2 separate regions of the Homo sapiens genome follow, and region 2 is linked to region 1. Evidence: promoter capture Hi-C in human tissues and cell types (Jung and others, 2019). All regions are on one chromosome and are shown on one strand. Each heading gives the region's core, a stretch centred on a gene start or on the middle of the fragment in contact. The rest is flanking DNA. Distances are from core to core; before and after follow the strand shown. Region 1 holds the start of TBC1D12 (TBC1 domain family member 12). Region 2 overlaps NOC3L (NOC3 like DNA replication regulator).

Region 1 (2,700 bases), core at 74-2,573:
CCAGGTATGAATGGCAGGTACAGCCTCCCGCGGACAAGGCAACAGAAAGACTCGCTGTCCACAGAGCTCACAACTTCTCCTATAGAAACACAAAGCCGACCCAGTTCCTCTTCCTCCAGTGACAAATCAAAGCTAAGTCCTGACGCGTGTGGGGCTGGCACGGAAGCGGCCGACCAAGCTCTCCGCTCCGGCTCCGGCTCCGGCTCCGACTCCCACCAAGACCCCGGCTCCGGCCCCGGCCCCGGACCCGCCCCGAGTCCCATGCAGCCTGCGCTGTACCTGGTGAAGAAGTCCGCGAAGCCGCCACTCCGTCGAGCCCGGGCCGAAGCCCCCGCAGGACCCTGCTCCGCGGCGGGCAAGGGCACCGGCGGCCCCGCCGGGGGCAGGTGATCGCGGGCGCTCTGACCGCGGCTCACCTGGAACGTGTTGCGAGAGTTGAAGTGAATGTCAGAAAAGCCCAGGCGCGGCTCCGCACCCCCATTAGTCCTCTCGGCCGAGGTGGCAGGGGGCGCGCCCTCCTCGGGACCCCCGGCGCCGACTCCCCGCTGCTCTGAGTCCTCGCTACTGCTGCAGCTGCTGGCGGGGCTGTCCCCCGAGTCGCTGCCCGCGCCCTCGGGCTCCTGGGCGTCCGCGGCCACCAGGCAGCAGCTCCGCAGCGGGTCCTCAAGCGGAGAGGCCCAATCGGACGGGCTTCCCGCGCCGTCCGCGTCCTCGTCGCCAGGCCCCTCCAGGCGAAGGCGGCCGTAGGGGCGGCGGCGGCGCGACTCCCGGCCGCCGGCGCGCGCCAGCCCGCGAGCCTCTTCCAGATCGCGACAGTCCCGGCCCGGCAGAAAACCCGAGTCGCCGTTGGTCATGCCTTCGTGCCGCGGCGCGCGGCCATCAGCCACCTCCGCGCCGCGGTGTTTGGAGCCCGAGCCCAGCAGGCAGGCGTCCGATCGTGGGGCTGCCGAGGGCGGCGGGGCGCCGGCCTGGCCAGCGGGGAGCGGACAGTAGCAGAGCCCCGGCTCCAGCTGCTCCCCGGCCGCCGCGAGGTAACGCTGAAGGAGCTGCCGAGGCGGCGTCTCCTCCTCCTCGTCAGCCTCCTCCTCCTCGTCAGCCTCCTCCGGCGGCTCCACAGCGCCGACGCCTCCGCCAAAGCCGCCCGTGGCCCGGATTACCTTCCTGTCCTGGCCCACGGGGTCCGGCGCAGGCACCGGGAGCAACTTGGGGTTTCTTCCCGAGCAGGCTCCGGCATCCTCCGGACCCACCATCTGGGGGTGGGTGGCGGCCGCCCCAGGAGGCAAAGAAGGACTACAGGCGCAGGCTTGGCCAGAGAACAGCTCTGGGTGCTGGGGCCGCGGCGACAGCCGCCGCAACGTTCCCAGACCCACCCCTCCCACCCGCTGGGTCGGACAGTTGCTTGAGGGCGGGCACGCGCCAGGACTCGCGCACGCGCAAAAGTCGGACCGGTCAAGCCCCGACCTGGAGATTCCCCGAACCATAGAGACGGTAGCTAGAGAGACGCAGGCTGCCAATCTAGGATCCGCCATCTGGATGGTGGAAGCTGGTTGGCCCGCTCTAAGCGTGACAGTTCTTACCGAAGCGCGGGTATTGCTCGCTTAGCAAAAATTCACTTGATGTATTTCATTTATGGTAGTAAAATACTCCCATATTTGGGAGGTGTTAGCGTGGGTAAGTCCTTCCAGCTCTAATTGGTCACCAGTCGACTTTACGATTTTTACATCCTTCTCCGGCATCATTGCCACAGTTCAGGGCTTCATCACTTCATCCAGGAGGGTCAACACCCTCCCTTCTTCACTTCATCTAACACAAAAGAAAGATATCCTAAGTTATCTTGCTCACCTAGCACCATGTTTCATCACAGTCCTCTGTTTAAAAGATTATCACCGGCCGGGCGCGGTGGCTCACGCCTGTAATCCCAGCACTTTGGGAGGCCGAGGCGGGTGGATCACAAGGTCAGGAGATGGAGACCATCCTGGCTAACACGGTGAAACCCTGTCTCTACTAAAAATACAAAAAAATTAGCTGGGCATGGTGGCGGGCGCTTGTAGTCCCAGCTACTCGGGAGGCTGAGGCAGGAGAATGGCGTGAACCCGGGAGGCGGAGCTTGCAGTGAACCGAGATCGCGCCACTGCACTCCAGCCTGGGCGACAGAGCGAGACTCCGTCTCAAACAAGAAAAAAAGATTATCACCTAAGGAGGGAGAGGAAGTGGTCAGGCAGAGAGGAGCTATTGAAATAATTCCAGCACTCTGCGATAGTGGATTAAAATGGGATGATTGACCATTGAGTGGAAATGAAGTATATTTAAAGTAAAAGACGAAAGACTTGATAACTGATCAGAAGTGACAGAAGAGAGAGTAACCAATGATTACTACAAAGATATGAGACTGAAACTGATATGGTTTGAAGAAATAGAAAAGTGGATAGGAAAAAAACGATTAATAGGGGAAATACATCTGGTAAAGTAAACGACTGAAAATATCCAGCATATAGAGTTCTAAAACTTGAGTTGGCTGGGCGCAGTGGCTCACGCCTATAATCCCAACACGTTGGGAGGCCGAGGCAGGTGGATCACCTGAGGTCAGGAGTTCGAGACCAGCCTGGCCAACATGGTGAAACCCAGTCCCTACTAAAAATACGAAAAATTAGCTGGGCATGGTGGTGGGCACCTGTAATCCCAGCTACTTGGGAGGCTGAG
Region 2 (2,700 bases), core at 100-2,599, 63 kb after region 1:
AATATATTCATATAATATAGTTTGTAAATATTTTACTTGGGATATCAGTCACCTTAAATATGTGTCTTTATGTGACAACCATTCAAATTCTTCCCTCCTAGCTATTTTGAAATAGATAATAGATTATTGTAAACTATAGTCACCCTGTAAATCTGCCTCATACTAGGTTATCTTAAAGATAACCTTTATAGGTCTTTTTTTTCTTTTTTGAGATAGGGTCTCACTCAGTTGCCCAGGCCGGAGTGCAGTGGTGCAATCACAGCTCACTGCAGCCTTGACCTTCCAGGGCTCAGGTGATCCTCCCACTTTAGCCTTTTGAGTAGCTGGGACTACAGATGTGGGGCACCATACCTGGCTAATTTTTCTATTTTTTTGTAGAAATTTTTTTTTTTTTTTTTTTTGAGAGGGAGTCTTGCTCTGTCACCCAGGCTGGAGTGCAGTGGCGTGATCTCGGCTCACTGCAAGCTCCGCCTCCCGGGTTCACACCATTCTCCTGCCTCAGCCTCCCGAGTAGCTGGGACTACAGGCGCCCACCACCATGCCCGGTTAATTTTTTGTATTTTTAGTAGAGACAGGGTTTCACCGTGTTAGCCAGGATGGTCTTGATCTCCTGACCTCGTGATCTGCCCGCCTCGGCCTCCTGAAGTGCTGGGATTGCAGGCGTGAGCCACCGCGCCCGGCCCTGAGAGATGGGTTTTTGCCATGTTGCCCAAGCTGGTCTTGAACTCCTGGGCTCAAATGATCTGCCTGCCTCAGCCTCCCAAATTGCTGGGATTACAGGCTTGAGTCTTTGCTCCTGGCCTTAAAGTTCTTTTTTAAAGCTATAAATGGCAATTACCATTCTTAATATTCCATCCCCCTCACCCCCCCCTTTTTTTTTTAAAGGACCTAAGCTATCAAGAAAGTCTTCACTGTGTCCAGACTGCTTTTCATATTCTTTCTGGACAAGGTATGATATTTTCTTAATCAAGTTTTGTTTGCCTTACCTTTGAATGCTATAACATACCTAATTGGTGTTTGTTGTCATTTCAAAGGTGATGTTCTGAATATTGATCCATTGAAATTCTACACACATCTCTACAAAACACTGTTCAAATTACATGCAGGTATGTATGTTTAGATAATGTTTCTTTTATATGTATTTATGTTTTAAGAATATGTTATGACCCATCATTGTAGACAAATGAGAAATAGGAACAGGTACATAAAATGGTGACTTTCCAGTGCCATGCATCTGTATTTAATCTTATGTAAGACTTGGAGAAAGAGCTTCTGGAATTGACTGGAGATGCAGTAAGTATAGCCCGCTGTATCTCCTTAGCAGTATAGCACTACCTCATTGATTAGAGAAATGGTTTGGGACAGGTACAAAAGTTTATCTTGGGTTTATCTGAAGTTCAGTCCAGTTGCGTAATGAAAAAGTAATGAGAACAGCTCTGAAGAATATGTCTGCTGTTTTAGGTGCTACCAATGAAGGTGTTGAGATTGTACTCCAGTGCCTTGATGTCATGCTAACTAAGCGCAGAAAGCAAGTTTCTCAGCAGCGAGCTCTTGCCTTCATCAAACGCCTTTGTACCCTTGCTCTTCATGTTCTTCCAAATTCAAGTATTGGCATTTTAGCAACTACCAGAATATTAATGCATGTAAGTAGTGATACAAATGAACAGAGCTAAGTTCTTATAATGCAATGATTTTTTTTGTTTGAGGCATGTCTTTTCCCCCCTTTTATATTATTTCAATTACAGAAGTAATTCACACTTGTAACAAAATCAGGTGACAAAAGAGGTATATAAAATTGAAAAAAAGCATTTTATACCTATTGACACTTCTCAGTGTCATTAGGTGGGTATCCATTTACCATTTGGTGGGTATTTTTCCAGCAGCCTTTTAAAGTTCATATATAAACACATACACATAGAAACAACTCAACTTTGTATTTTAATGGAAAGAGGATTATGCTATATATTCTACCACTTTTTTAACCTTAGCATTTAATCATGGTAAACACATTATAATGTCACTACTCTCTTTATGTAAGGTTTATTTAATTCTTTGCTTAACAAACACCATAGTTCTGACTATGTGCCTTCCAGTTATAAATGCCTTACAAAAATTTAATTTTCATAACTCTGAGGTAGCTACTATTCTTGTTCCTATTGTACATGTGGGAAAACTGAGGTCCAGAGAGGTTAAGTGTCTTGGCTTGAGTAGCAGTGCCAGTCAGTGGTAGAAGTGATATTCAAATGTAGGCAGTCTGGTTTTTCTGCTTCTTTCTATTTCTCTTGATATAGGTTATTTCTTTTTTTGCTATTACAAATGATGCTATAGTGAATATCTTTATGTATTTATCTGATGTAATTATTTCTATCAGATTTCTAAAAGTGTGATTGCAAGGTGAGAAGCATATTTTTTTCTTTTGCAAGATAAAATTAATTTTCAAAGCAAGCAAAGATAAAATTTTTTTTTGCAACTCTTGTTCTTACTATATAAACTTAAATTGTTTTTTATTAAATCTAGGTGTAAAGACTTTATGCAAAGCTCTTATACAACCATAAATTTAAATGCAAATACAACTACAAACCAGTAACACCTCTTATATTAACAATGTTAATTTAACCAATTCTTTTTATGTGACATTTTTGCAGACTTTCCCCAAAACAGATCTACTGCTTGACAGTGAATCTCAGGGAAGTGGAGTTT

What was found. Contacts are between HindIII fragments. The study calls those that stand out against the background at their distance.
Region 2: a fragment that was not itself captured here is called in contact with the fragment with the promoter of TBC1D12 in region 1 in 1 of the 25 tissues and cell types used here (ovary).

Annotation. Positions count from the first base shown.
Region 1 is chr10:94,401,164-94,403,863 of GRCh38, reverse strand. It overlaps TBC1D12 (TBC1 domain family member 12), which reads right to left and starts at 1,323. Exons shown (of 13, transcript NM_015188.2): 1 at 280-1,323. The coding sequence starts at 1,250. RefSeq lists enhancers at 1-115, 1,416-1,575 and silencers at 196-525, 596-1,085. The HindIII fragment of the contact is 13,183 bases long and covers 1-2,700 here.
Region 2 is chr10:94,338,682-94,341,381 of GRCh38, reverse strand. It overlaps NOC3L (NOC3 like DNA replication regulator), which reads left to right. Exons shown (of 21, transcript NM_022451.11): 15 at 886-949; 16 at 1,035-1,106; 17 at 1,462-1,643; 18 at 2,646-2,700. Among named protein-coding and RNA genes, the nearest start is that of NOC3L, 23 kb to the left of the region's middle. The HindIII fragment of the contact is 6,628 bases long and covers 1-2,700 here.